Linked DNA regions of Homo sapiens: regions 1, 2, 3 and 5 are each linked to region 4. The links are contacts of gene promoters, found by promoter capture Hi-C in blood cells and fetal thymus (Javierre and others, 2016). All regions are on one chromosome and are shown on one strand. Each heading gives the region's core, a stretch centred on a gene start or on the middle of the fragment in contact. The rest is flanking DNA. Distances are from core to core; before and after follow the strand shown.

The links. Contacts are between HindIII fragments. The CHiCAGO score rates a contact against its expected background, and 5 or more counts as called.
Region 1: a fragment that was not itself captured here is called in contact with the fragment with the promoter of ROCK1 in region 4 in 1 of 17 cell types (neutrophils); the score reaches 5.2 in neutrophils.
Region 2: a contact is called between a fragment that was not itself captured here and the fragment with the promoter of ROCK1 in region 4, in 2 of 17 cell types (naive CD4 T cells and total B cells). The highest score is 5.4, in naive CD4 T cells.
Region 3: a fragment that was not itself captured here is called in contact with the fragment with the promoter of ROCK1 in region 4 in 3 of 17 cell types (naive B cells, fetal thymus and total CD4 T cells); the score reaches 5.2 in naive B cells.
Region 5: a fragment that was not itself captured here is called in contact with the fragment with the promoter of ROCK1 in region 4 in 7 of 17 cell types (naive CD4 T cells, naive B cells, activated CD4 T cells and 4 more); the score reaches 7.4 in naive CD4 T cells.

The regions. Positions count from the first base shown.
Region 1 is chr18:21,184,906-21,187,605 of GRCh38, forward strand. No RefSeq gene overlaps it. Among named protein-coding and RNA genes, the nearest start is that of GREB1L, 56 kb to the right of the region's middle. The HindIII fragment of the contact is 3,283 bases long and covers 1-2,700 here.
Region 2 is chr18:21,004,456-21,007,155 of GRCh38, forward strand. It overlaps ROCK1 (Rho associated coiled-coil containing protein kinase 1), which reads right to left. Exons shown (of 33, transcript NM_005406.3): 15 at 2,244-2,335; 16 at 1,896-2,142. Among named protein-coding and RNA genes, the nearest start is that of ROCK1, 110 kb to the right of the region's middle. The HindIII fragment of the contact is 3,787 bases long and covers 1-2,700 here.
Region 3 is chr18:20,986,837-20,989,536 of GRCh38, forward strand. ROCK1 (Rho associated coiled-coil containing protein kinase 1) reads right to left here. Exons shown (of 33, transcript NM_005406.3): 19 at 114-274. Among named protein-coding and RNA genes, the nearest start is that of ROCK1, 120 kb to the right of the region's middle. The HindIII fragment of the contact is 907 bases long and covers 811-1,717 here.
Region 4 is chr18:21,110,521-21,113,220 of GRCh38, forward strand. It overlaps ROCK1 (Rho associated coiled-coil containing protein kinase 1), which reads right to left and starts at 1,293. Exons shown (of 33, transcript NM_005406.3): 1 at 298-1,293. The coding sequence starts at 390. RefSeq lists enhancers at 946-1,534, 1,188-1,482, 1,582-1,801, 1,832-1,891 and a silencer at 1,152-1,541. The HindIII fragment of the contact is 6,843 bases long and covers 1-2,700 here.
Region 5 is chr18:21,023,080-21,025,779 of GRCh38, forward strand. ROCK1 (Rho associated coiled-coil containing protein kinase 1) reads right to left here. Exons shown (of 33, transcript NM_005406.3): 11 at 541-601. Among named protein-coding and RNA genes, the nearest start is that of ROCK1, 87 kb to the right of the region's middle. The HindIII fragment of the contact is 1,458 bases long and covers 543-2,000 here.

The DNA of each region.
Region 1 (2,700 bases), core at 142-2,641, 74 kb after region 4:
CTCCATAGAGTTCATTCAATAATGTACTATAATCTGTAATAAGGATACTCCGGCCACGTGGAGTTGAGGTTCAGCAGATCTCCCACATGCTAAGTGGCATTTCCCTTTCTGATGCCTCTCCAGAACTTTGGAGCAAGGAGAGTATTAAATGTAATCCAATCTGCTGGCTGAAGCTCTGTAGTCACTCTGCTTCATGGCCCACTAACCTTGGCCCTGTTGATCTCTGCCTTCTCCAAAAATTACCTTTTCAGGCCAGGCACAGCAGCTCACGCCCAGCACTTTGGGAGGCTGAGGCAGGTGGATCACTTGAGGTCAGGAGTTCAAGACCAGCCTGACCAACATGGTGAAACCCCATCTGTACTAAAAATACAAAAAATTAGCCGGGTGTGGTAGTGCCTTCCTGTAATTCCAGCCACTTTGGAGGCTGAGGCAGGAGAATCACTTGAACTCCAGAGGCAGAGGTTGCAGTGAGCTGAGATCGTGCCACTGCACTCCAGCCTGGGCAACAAGAGTGAAATTCCATCTTGAAAAAAAAAAATTACCTTTTCATCCCTTCAAGCCTGTTCTCAGTGCTGGCCATCTGCCATGGCCTAGCACCTCCTGGAAGTCCAGGATCAGCTGCCCAGGAAGCAGCTCCCCAACAAAGTATGAACTGTGTCTGCCTCTGCCCACCTCTGGATATCAGGTGCCTGCTTGCCCTTCCAGGGGTAATTGCTGTCTCCTTATAACAGGTAACCACTGTTCTCAGTGTCTTATTGTCCTTCCAGTATATAAATGGCATACAATTGATATTCACCTGTTTTCTTTCTTTTTCTAGACAAATAATAATGACAACACATACTGTTCGGCGCCTTTTTTCATCTAACTACAAATCTTGGCAATCTTTCTACCATTTCATAAAGTGCCTTGTTTTTTATGGTTGAATAGTACTGTTTGTATAGATGTGCTATGATGCTTTATTCAAGCAGGCCCCTCTTGATGGACTCCTACAAATTAAAAGTTGTTACAAATCTGTGACTATCACAAACAATGCTATAATGAACTGCCTTGTACTTTTCTTTTCTTTCTTTCTTTTTTTTTTTTTCTTTGAGACAGTCTCACTCTGTTACCCAGGCTGGAGTGCAGTTGCAGTGTACAATCTTAGCTCACTGCAGCCTCTGCCTCCCAGGTTCAAGCAATTCTCCTGCCTCAGCCTCTCAAGTAGCTGGGATTATGGGCACATGCCACCATGCCCGGCTAATTTTTGTATTTTTAGTAGAGATGGGGTTTCACCATGTTGGCCAGGCTGGTCTTGAACTCCTGACCTCAGGTGATCCACCTGCCTTGTTCTCTCAAAGTGCCGGGTTTGCAGGTGTGAGCCACTGTGCCCAGTCTTTTTTCTTTTGAGACAAGGTCTCACTCTGTGGAGTACAGTGGCACAATCACAGCTGACTGCAGCCTCAACCTCCCTGGCTCAAGTGATCCTCCCACCTCAGTCTCCTAGGTAACTGGGGCCACAGGCGTGCACCACCTCACCTGGCTAATTTTTTTTTTTTTTTTTTTTTGTAGAGACTATGTTGCCCAGGCTGGTCTTAAACTCCTGGGCTCGAGCAATCCTCCAGCCTCAGCCTTCCAAAGTACTGGGATTACAGGAATGAGCCAGCATACCCAACCTGTATGTCATTTTCAACATGTGTGAATTGCTAAAGATAATCAAAGACAGACATTAAAGTAATGAAAACAGATTTTATTCAGTAACTACTGACAGTAGCTGAAAGAGGTGAGCTCCATTCCGATTTATCCAGAGGTAACTGAGCAATTTAATAAAAGAATAACAGAGAAGGGAAGGGGAATAAACGGGGGCTCAAATACAGTCAGGGAAGTGAAAAATTACAAAAAGTGGGTATGAAGTTGGGTCAACCTGTCACAGTGGCTCACACCTGTAATCCCAGAACTTTGGGAAGCCAAGGCAGATGGATCACTTGAGCTCAGGAGTTTGAGACCAGCCTGGCCAACATGGTGAAACTCCATCTACAAAAACTACAAAAATTAGCTGGGCCTAGTGGTGCACACCTGTAGTCCCAGCTACTTGGGAGGCTGAGGCAAGAGGATCACTTGAGCCAGATTGTTTGAGGAGGTCGAGGCTGCAGTGAGCTGTGATCATGCCACTGCGCCTCAAATCTGGGCAATAGAGTGACACTCTAAAAAAAAAAAAAGGTGGGTGAGTGTAAATGTGATTAGGCCAGCTATGTCTACTAGCTGGCTTTTTTTTTTTTTTTTTTGAGACAGAGTATCTCTTTGTCATCCAGGCTGGAGTGCAGTGGCATGATCTTGGCTCACTGCAACCCCTGCCTCCCAGGTTCAAGCAATTCTGCTGCCTCAGCCTCCCGAGTAGCTGGGACTACAGGCATACAACACCACGCCTAGCTAATTTTTGTATTTTTAGTAGACATGGGATTTCATCATGTTGGCCAGGCTGGCCTCGAACTCCTGGCCTCAAGTAATCCACTTACCTCAGTCTCCCAAAATGCTGGGATCACAGGCATAAGCCACCACACCTGGCCTACTAGCTGGCAATTATTGAAGTTAGGACTCTCCTACAGACTGAGAGACAGGTCCTATCCTTCCTGGTGGTTACATTTCAAAAGAATGGCTTTCAGGTCCCTGAGAATGGCATGCCTAGTTTATATGAGATATGTATATATACCATCGGTATCCATG
Region 2 (2,700 bases), core at 194-2,693, 110 kb before region 4:
TATGTGAGCTTTTATTCACGTTTAAGTTCCAAATTAAACTCTGAAAAAGAATAAACTAACAATAAATCATGCTATAAATTTTCCTTAACTTTTACTGATATCTAAAAAATAGATTCAGTTAAAAACCACTGTTGATAGTACATGGATGATCTCTGCCTCTGAAGCAAGGAGCTTAAAGCTCAGTCAAACACAGATCACAAACTTATAAGAATTTTAGAATTGGAAGGATTTATAGAGGTAACCTATTCTTATCTCCTTGGTTTACAGATAAAGAAGGGAGATGAAGAGACTTTCAAACAGCTAATAAGCTGTATAAAAAGGCCTAGGAAAACAATTTAAGGAAGTCTGTGACTTTCCTATTACATATAAAGTGGTTACTTTCTTAGTTATAATCAGATCTATTTTAAGCCTGGTCCCTGAGAAATATGATTGCACAACACTCCTCAGCTAAGAACCAACAGGAGATTGTATTTTCTGTTTCCTTAGTCACAAAAACTGACCCTGACCTCTCTCCACTGAATTATAGCTAATCATCAAGCCCCAAGGGACCTGAAACTATGTTCCCATCTCTAACTAAGGTTAAAAAGAACTCCTCCCTCCAATTTTTTCCTGAGACATCTGGCAACTTCTATGCATATTTGTTTTGATTAGGTAGTATGGATGCTGCTGCTAACAGGAATAGAAAATAGAAAAATATGTGAGTAGGTAAAGCCAGGAATCTTTTTGAAAACAAACTGAATTTTATTACTATTTAAAAACTGTTCATTTATTCACTTAGTTATACTCAATCTTCTGCCTCTTAGATTCACAAAGACTGTCAATATCTCCAGTTCAAACATTCCCAAGTATCTAACTTTTAATGTGTAATGGGATTTTATTTCTGCAACTGACTTTCTATTACTACCAACGATGCATGAGGAATTCCTAGGTTTTAATAGTGATAATCCTCTTTGCCTGGATTAGTCTCACTTTGAGTAAAACCTTTATGAATTAGGCAAGTTTTTAAATGAAGTTTTTGGTTAATTTGTCTGTAAAACTGAAAAATATCCACATTACATACCCTGCAGGAGTACCTGTGAGGGTGAAGAAATTACAATGTGATACAAATGTGGGCATTATTCTAAAAGAGAAAGAATGCTGGCCTGGTGTGGTGTCTCACACCCATAATGCCAGCACTTTGGGAGGTCGAGGTGGGCGGATCGCTTGAGCTCAGGAGTTTGAGACCAGCCTGGGCAAAATGGTGAAACCCCGTCTCTACAAAAAATGCAAAAATTAGCTGGGCATGGTGGCATGCACCTGTAGTCCCAGCTACTCAGGAGGTTGAGGTGGGAGAATTGCTTGACCTCAGGAGTTCAAGGCTGCAGTGAGCTGTGATCATGCCGCTGCACTCCAGCCTGTGCAACAGAGCAAGTTCCTATCTCAAAAAAACGTAAACAATAAAAAAGAATGCAACCATTTCTGGTTTCACCAAAGTCATTTTCTTTATGAGGGTAATATGATCATAAATATATTAACTTAGACTTAAAAATGGTCAAGATGGTAAATTTTATGTTATATATTTTTAACAATTAAAAATAAAAATTATAAAATATTCCTTCCATTGATAGATGAGTGGATGAACAAAATGTGGTATACACATACCATGGAATATTACTGAGCCCTAAAAAGGAAGGAAAATCTGACACACACAACATGGATAAACCTTGAAGACATTGTGCTAAGTGAAAAAAGCCAGACGCAAAAGGACAAACACTGTATGATTCCACTTATATGATGATGGTTGCATACATTGTGAACTGCATTTAATCCCACTGAACTGTATATATAAAAATGGTTAAAATGTTATAATAAATTTCATGTTACGTATATTTTACCACAATAAGAAAAAATATTACCTTGAAGGTCTCCAATCATCTCAGAATCATGACCTCTGTCTCTTCGTTCAGCTTCTAATATAGCTTGCAGCTGGTAATAATCTTTGTCTGTTTGTGACTTAGAATTCTCTAAAATTCGATTTCTCTCTTGCAACTCTCTGTTCAGGGACTCTAACTGACTAATTGACTTGCTCATCTCTGTGTGACTCTTCCTCAATCTTACAGCTGTGTCCGATTCTGTCCTAAGTAAGTCATTGGCTTCTTCTAGCTATTTAAAAAGAAAGCAAAAAAATAGGTTTCTGACCAAAGTACGATATAATTTAATTATCTACAATTTTTTTAAAAAGGAACCTCATTTGAAACACTTACCTGCTTTTGTAACTGGGACAGCTTCTCATTAGCAAGCTGTGAATTCTGACTGACTTTCTTTAAGTCTTCCAACTGATCCTTTAATGTAGAAACTAGAAAATGAAAGAATAATATATAGAAATTACAACATTTTCATAGGGGAAACATATAAATCCTTTTTTAAAAAAAGACATTTAGTCTTAGGCCATAATAGTCAGCTACATTAGGTCCACTCCCAAAGCCAAATTCCAATTTGGAAGTACCTGCATTTTAAATTCATTAAAAAGTAGAACATTATCTTCTAATACAGAGTGCAAAAAGATTTCTTCTTACTGTTGTAAATCTCAAACTCCTTTATTCCCTTTATAAGATCACTGATAGTATACTTATAAAGCTAGTTTTAATATTATTTATTTTTCAAGAGTTCAATTGCTTGATAATTCAATATCTTAATAAAAATACAAAATTTAAAAGGTAC
Region 3 (2,700 bases), core at 14-2,513, 120 kb before region 4:
ATTATTTCATTCAAATCTCCTTCATGGTGTTTAAATTATAGATAACTCCAGTCATAACTTATATAACCGTTTCTCTTTTAATAGATGAACAAAGTCAGTACTATTTTTCTTACTTCATCCTCCATCCTTTCTTTATTTCCAGTCAAATGTTCTAGTTTCTGCTGAGATTGCTTCAGATCAACGTCTAGCATGGAACACTGTTTCTCAATCTGAACAACCCGATTTTCAGCCTTCTCTCGAGCTTCTCTTTCTTCTTTCAGCTTTTTTTCCATCTCTGGGAAAGCAAAAAGTTACAAACATACATTTAAAGAAAGAGTACTTTAACACATTTCACTTTATATGGGCTGTAAACTGGTTTCAAATGTCTCTATTGTTTTTATTCTGGGACTTGAATAGAGCTAGTAATTATAGAAATTCTCACATTATGTAAACTATTTATATAGCAGAAATCTCTAAAGAAAAGGAGTTATAAAATATAATACAGTAATAAAATCTTCTAAACCCAGCTCTTGCCCAGTGATGAGAGATTAATCGGTACCACTTTCAGACAAGAAGGTGAAGAGTATAGCTAGAAAGGAAGTGAATTAACAAAGAACAATGAACATACATCAAGCAAAAGCAGAAAAATAAGGCTGTGGTTATTAATTTATACCCTGCATTGTTCCAGAAAAGGTTGAAGAGGCTTAAGGCTATGGTAGGAACTCCAATTTATACAATTCAGATGAATAAGATTCCACAGTAGTATACCTCTTTTAATTATTACTGGAATATATTAGTCTACACTGAGGCTCCTTTTTTGAAATATAACTAAGCTTCTGAGAGGTTAACTTTTCCATGTTCATGTAACTAGTAAGTTGCCCCATAAGGATTCAAGTTTATTTAAAGTGTGCTTTCCCACTCTTGGAGACCACCCTCTAGGTGACAAAATATAAACTATTAAATAAATATAAATAAACTATTCCTTATCTTTCCCCCCAAACTTACAAACTTAGCTGCACCAATAAAACTGTCACCTCTTAAGACCCTTCTGTTTAATCAAACACAAATCCATCCACTATGTTCTTCTGACTCTTGGTATCTCTCTCCTGAGCTCCAGACTTAGATACCAATTGACTATTTAACATCTCCACCTAGATATCTAATAATCTTATTAAAGTTAACATATCCACAATAGATGCCTTTACTTCTGGCCTATCCCCAAACCACTCCAACCCCAGTTAGACTCAGTCTTTTTTTTTTCTTTTTTTGAGATGGTGTCTCGCTCTGTTGCCCAGGATGGAATACAGTGGTGCAATCTCGATTCACTGCAACTTCCGCCTCCTGGATTCTAAGAATACTCCTGCCTCAGTCTCCTGAGTAGCTGAGATTACAGGTACGCACCACTACACGCAGCTAATTTTTGTATTTTTCAGTAGAGATGGGGGTTTCACCATGTTGCCCAGGCTGGTCTCAAACTCCTGACCTCAAATAATCTGCCTGCCTTGCCCTCCCAAAGTGCTAGCATTACAGGTGTGGGTCCCCGCACCCGGCCTCTTTCTATCCAATTCATCACTCTTCTCCTCTATACCTCGACTTCTTTCCCTCTCTACTACTACCAGTGTTTACAGCGTATAGCTTTCTAACTGATCTCCCTTTTTATCACTGTTCTCACTCTTGAAAGCATTCCCCACAGAGCAGCGGGAATGATCTTTTAAAAATATAAATTACACATCCCAGAAGCTTAAAATGTGCTAGTGGCTTAATACAAATCTTAGAATAAGAATACTGAACTTACTATCACTTCTGCCTGTAATGCACTTTCTCCAGCTCATTTAACAGGTGGTTCATTTTGACTTTCAGTTCTTACCTCAAATATTACTAGCTCAGAAAGCCTTCCTCAGAACCCCCATCCAGGGCAGTGCCAAGTCAAAACAATCATATTAATATGTATTTCCTTCCCATTAATAATTACAAGCTGTATGTATTTTCATTTATGTATTATTATTTTTTTTTGTCTATATTCACTATCTGAATGTAATCTCCGGGCTTCCTGTCAGTTTTATTCTCTGCGATATTCCCAGCTGTGCCTTGTCTGTAGGCAGTCAATAATTAACTTAAGTGAAGGAAATAAAAGAAGCTCAATATGGCTGAAGCACAGGGTACACACAACAAAGTGTAGGGTAGTAAGATTGTAAAGACAGGCAGGTGTCAACTTAAAGATTCTATATATACAAGGAGTTTGAAAGGTACCCTGCAAACAATGAAAAGCCACTAAAGGATTTTAAGGACAACCAAAATACGATTTGACTAAAAAGGAAAATTGTTCTAACCTAAGTGAGAATGACTGATGAGTAGAACAACTCTTGGCAAGATGATGATGTGATGTTCAGTAGCCAAGATAATAGCTACTGAAAACTTTCTATGCACAGGCACTTTACATGCATTTTTCATCTAACTTAGAATAGTTACAGAGCAACATTGATCTGTCTGATTCCAAAGCCTTAGCTCATAAAGACCATATGGCCATTAACTAGGTTAGTGAGAATAAAGAATAAGAGCAGGTTTGATGGATGAGATTATGAGCTTTCTTTTGAGCAAAAATAATTTAAGATGCCAACACATCCAGACTGTAGTAGGTTAAGAATAAGCAGAAGGTGAGGAAAAGACTTTTAGAAGTTTGGATATTTTTTAATTTTTTTCTATAAAGAATCTGACACCATT
Region 4 (2,700 bases), core at 43-2,542:
CTGACGTGATAACTTTTTATAGGATGCCTGCAATAGCAGTTTGTAAGTATCTTTCGGGTACTCATGAACTGAGTCAGAATTAAAAGTTCAGAGTAGTTAGTACAGAGCCAGTCAAATGGCAAATAGGACCACACCATGAGATGTTAATGGTACTCCAAGATTCTTCAGGAAACAGAAATCTAGCATTTTCCAAGACGATTATGCACACCTGAGACTTTTGCAGCGAACCAGACTAATGCAAGAGGAAGGAAAGACATGCAAAACCCCAGACAAGCAAAAGAGAACAGCGCTACTCACCAGCAAACAATCCGAATTCACTTCCGATTTGGGATCCCGCAGCAGGTTGTCCATTTTTTCAAATCGAGTCTCAAAACTGTCCCCAGTCGACATGTTGCTGCTGCTGTGACAATGCCCTCTTACCAGCACCAGCAGCGGAAAGCAATTTCAACCAACTTCCTCCGCGGTGGGTTCGCAGCCGCGGGGCGGAGGAGCCGGAACCTCAGGGTCACCAGGTGCGCCCGGTTCCCCCGTCTTCCCCTCACTGAGGGGACCTCCGCTCTCCAGACCCCGGGCCGGGGGCAACAGCGACCCACAGCCGCTCGGACGCCCAAAGTCGCATCCCACCCGGCAGCCCCTCACGACAGCCGACAGCGCCGTCGCCACCAGCCTCGTCGCTCCGGCGAGGTGCTTCAGTCTAGCGGGCCCCGGCCGCCGTCGCCATGGAGGGGTCCCCGTCCCGAGATGGGCAGGAGCGGGTAGAGAAAGAGAAGCAGGGTGGAGACTCCCTCCGGGCAACAAGGGAGGGAGAAGAGGAAAGGCGAAAGCAAAGGGCGGGTGAGGAGCTGTGCCAGCTGCGGCCGCCGCTCGGGCCACGGGCCGGGCCCGCTCCGCTCAGAGGCGCTGTAGACGGTCTAGCCCCGCGTCCCCGGCTCTACTCGGCCCGGCCCGACGCACCGATCAGTCTCGGCCACGAGCTGGTCCACGCAGGACAGCCTCACTCTCCCATTTTGTCCCGTCGCTGCTGGGGCTGCTGCTACGGTGTCCGGTGGGGCAGGGCGAGGTCGATGCCCGATGGAGACTTAGCAGAGGAAAGGCTGGAGAGCGGGCGAAGAGGAAGACGATAGTTGGGTCCCGGCGGCTGCTGATGGGGGAGCTTCTGGGAGGGGCTGCGGTCCCAGCCGGGGAAAGGGCGAGTCGCGGCGGCGAATGCCTGGGGGGTGGGGCGAGGGGGGCTGAGAGGGACTAATATGTCCGCCTTCCTGTTCAAACAAACGGAGACCGCCGGGGCAGACTGCGCATGCGGGGCGCGGACGCTCGGAAGGGGAACCAGCCGGGACCCCGCGCGCGCGCGCGCACTCTGTCGCCTCCGCAGGGTGGGGTGGGGCGGGGCGGTGAGGTGGGCGGGGCCTTGCGGGCAGGCGGTGGAGAAGGCGGACCGCTGGGAGGAGCCGAGTGCGGGTAAGCAGCTGCCGGCAAGGTTCTCGCCTTGGCCGGCTCTGAGGAGCCATGCAGGGCTCTGGAGCGGCCTTGGAGGTCCGGACGGAGGCGGAGCTCTGGCTGCTTCTGATCGCTGTCCCGGCAGATGCCCCAGCTCTGTTTCCTCTGGGTTGCAGCCAGTCCAGAGACTTCTGACGAGGAGAGAGTGCTTGTTCTCCTTGTTGCTGTTAGGGTGGGGCAATAGGTTCTTTTTTAGGCAAGAAGCCTTTTCGTCGGCAGGTACCAGCATTGAGCACCAGTGGCGTTTGGTTTTCAGTGGTACTCCATGGACAGCCCTCCGCGAGCCCCGGCGTTGAACCCATTTACGATTCACTGGGAAAGTTCCGAAGCGCTGCAGCGCTCAGCCCTCCCACGCCAGGCGTGTGTGTCAGGGGAGCCATAAAATACTGACTCCGGAAGATACAGTCAATAGAAGTCAAGCTCAATTTAATTTTTTTAAAGGAAAATAATCTCGTAGAAAAAAATCAATATTTTTAAGTCGTTCGTGTTAGTTCTCATAACACCCCTACTGTAGTTCTCTCCTGGACGTGTAATGCTGCCGTTTCAATGTCAAAACATTCAGTGAAACTTAATTGTGATTTTTATCAGAACTAATGTAGGACATGAGAATAATGGGCATTTCTCCTAGTTCCGTTACTTCGTTGACTGTGGTGTGAGGAAAGGTGAAAGACTTGTCACTCACCCCCGCTGATAAAGTTATGTTCTTCACTGGTTTCAGCAGGAAATCTACCTTAATTTATTCCTCATCAAACTTTATTTTTGCTCAGAAGCCAAATTAAGGATCACTAGAAATAGAAAATGTGGATCTTTTACCCCATGATGGAAAATGCTACAGATGAACCAAAAAGCATCGGAGTAAAAAGCATCGTACAGCATCTGAACAGTCCACCAGCCTTACGATGTGAGTCAGAGGTTAGGAAAATCTTACACTGTTTGAAAAAATGTCTATTTCTATTTTCAATTTATTAAATACAAGAAATATTTAGATATAAAATCCACTATATATATCAAGATAGGACGTTCTTGGTTTATACAAAAATCATAACAAAGACAACTAGACAAACCAGGTATTTCATTAAATGCCTTTGCAGCGACTTTTCTTGGCTCCAGCATTTTAAGTCATGTGAATTAGACTTATTTTTAAGCATAGGGCTTAAAATAAATCAGGCAGTTGCCCTAAAATAAATTTCCTAAACCCTGCTT
Region 5 (2,700 bases), core at 22-2,521, 87 kb before region 4:
AGCTGGGGGGAGGGTGAAATGAGGAGTTACTGTTTAATTGGTATAGATTTTTAGTTTGGGATGATGAAAAGGTTCTAGAGATGGATGGCAGTGATGGCTGCACAACTATGTGAAGGTGCTTAATGCCACCGAACTGCACACTTAAAAATGATTAAAACGGTAAATTTCATGTTACGTATATTTGCCATACACACAAAACTCTCTGTTTAAATATTTTGAACATGTAATCTGTTTGCCTGTCAAGACCCTTAATGATACATTGATATATCATAGTTCCTGATTCCGAAGATTAAAAAAGATGACCACTGTCAATCTGTGTAACAATTTAGTTTACTAACTGCCTCCAAATATATTATTCCATTTGATATTTGAGCAAAAAATCAGACTGAAAAGGAGATGGGAGATGAAAGTGCCATAAAAATCTAAGTTCAGCTAACCACAGCTTCACAAACAATATATAAATTTACTATCATACCCACAAATATATTATCCACAAAACAATTTTAAAAACAATTTTCTTAATACTAAGAAAATACCTACCAAGCTTTTATCTGCATTGGAGCTAGTTCTGTTATCATTAGGATTTGCTGAAGATAAGTATCTGAGGGAAAGAAAAGTTTAAAAAGAAAAGAAAACAAAAAACTCTGTAATATCCCATGACAACCAATAATAAATACTACACGCCTATTTTATGTTCAGTTATAGTAACTTTGTTTTTAAAAATTAAGTATAGGTTCATAATTTTTATAAACATAATTCAGAAATGATACATATATTAAATAAAACACCCAGTTAGGTCTAAAAATAGTAGCAGCCTGTAAACATATGACTTAATATTCCTGCAGCAAAACATAAGAATATTCATACCAAGTAGGATAAATAAAAACCATAGTCTCAAGTTAGTTCAGATTAGGCTTTCTGGTCATGAGAGCAGGTTATGACAGGTTTTTCCACCAAACAAATAACTTAAAAACATTCAGTTTTCAGAGCTTTTTGTATATAAGAATTGGGGGTAAGAAACTGCTGACTTCTGCAGACATATGCATAACCACCTCTCCTGCACCCAACTATCCTTCAGCAAAGCATAATATTGCCTCTTCGGGTCAAAAAAGTTTTTGCCTATGTGGGTGAAATAACAGAACCAAAGTTTAGGTGATGCTGCTAATCTTTTGGGACTCCCAGCCTTGCAGAGTTCTTTAAATTCAGTGTAAAGTTAGAATTGTATATAAATAAAGCTATTAGTGAACTAATTTAGAGGTCTTTTTTAGATGTCTCACAAGATTCTCAAACAATCTAAATAGATCATATATGTAAACAATTTTTTAAGCTACCAAATATTATATAAAGGTAAGGTACTAGTACTGCCAGTGTTGCTCCTACTGCCACCATGCTACGACTACCATAATCACTACTTCTACCATCACCACCACTACAGTCAGCACCCTGATTAACCAGTAGAGCTATTGCAAAAGGAGATCAAATAGTTACAGTATACTTCATAGCTATTGGAGGCATGTGTTAACACACCAGATATTAATAATGTTCCAAAAGAACAGTTTAAGTAAATTTTAAAAATTAGTGAATAACAGAAGATAATCAAGTATCCATTAAGTATCAATAAACATACACAGTACAATGGTACTATAAAAGAAACAGCTAGAAATATGCCACTTCCTAGGTTTTCCTTGAAAAATTATTCAGATCAAATGGAGATTCAAATAACTTTAAGACAATAATAGGGGCTGTGTAGCAGCTTTATAGAGGAAAAGTCCCATATAACAAATGACAAATTCTAGGTGTGGTGCAATTTAATTCCATTGACTACTAAGCATCTCAGAAATTCAATGTGAGATTCTGCTTATGTAATATAAATAAGGCATATAGCAATGCCAGTGGCATCTAAATTAGATGAGACTGTTTCATCTCTAAGATATTTTCTAAACTTAACATGCTATGTGACTGAGACTGACATTTTAGTCTTCTGCAAAATTAGTAATATAAGCTTGAATGCAGCAAAGGAAATGTAAGGACATCACTTGTATACATCCATTAATTCTTCCACCTTCTGTCTTTTCTCTATCAAGGTACATTTGCATATTATATTGGTGCTTTTACATAGAATCTGGTCATTTAGGTAACTTTTTACAAAACGGGAGTTACTATATTAGGAATATAGCTTAAGGCTATTTTAAAAATCATGTTTAATTCAGCTATAATTAAGCAACAATGATTTCTGCCCTTGGTATTAAAAGTATATCTGGATTTCAGGGATAAGAATTTCAGAGGTTTTCTATTTCATATCTGTATATTCAAAATTATGCTTACATATTACAATAAAGCTAATCAATATTTTGCCAGGGCCAGGTGCAGTGGCTCACACCTGTAATCCGCTGGGATTACTTTGGGAGGCCAAGGTGGGTGGATCACTTGAGGCCAGGGGTTTGAGACCAGCCTGGCCAACAGCCTGGCCAACATGGCAAAACCCCATCTCTAATAAAAATACAAAGATTAGCCAGGCATGGTGGTACGCACCTGTAATCCCAGCTACTCAGAGGCTGAGGCACAAGAATCACTTGAACCCAGGAGGCAGAGATTGCAGTGAGCCAAGATCACACCACCGCACTCCAGCCTCAGCGACAGAGTGAGACTCTTGTTTCAAAAATATATATATATTTTGTTGGTTCTTTCTTTATGAACAGC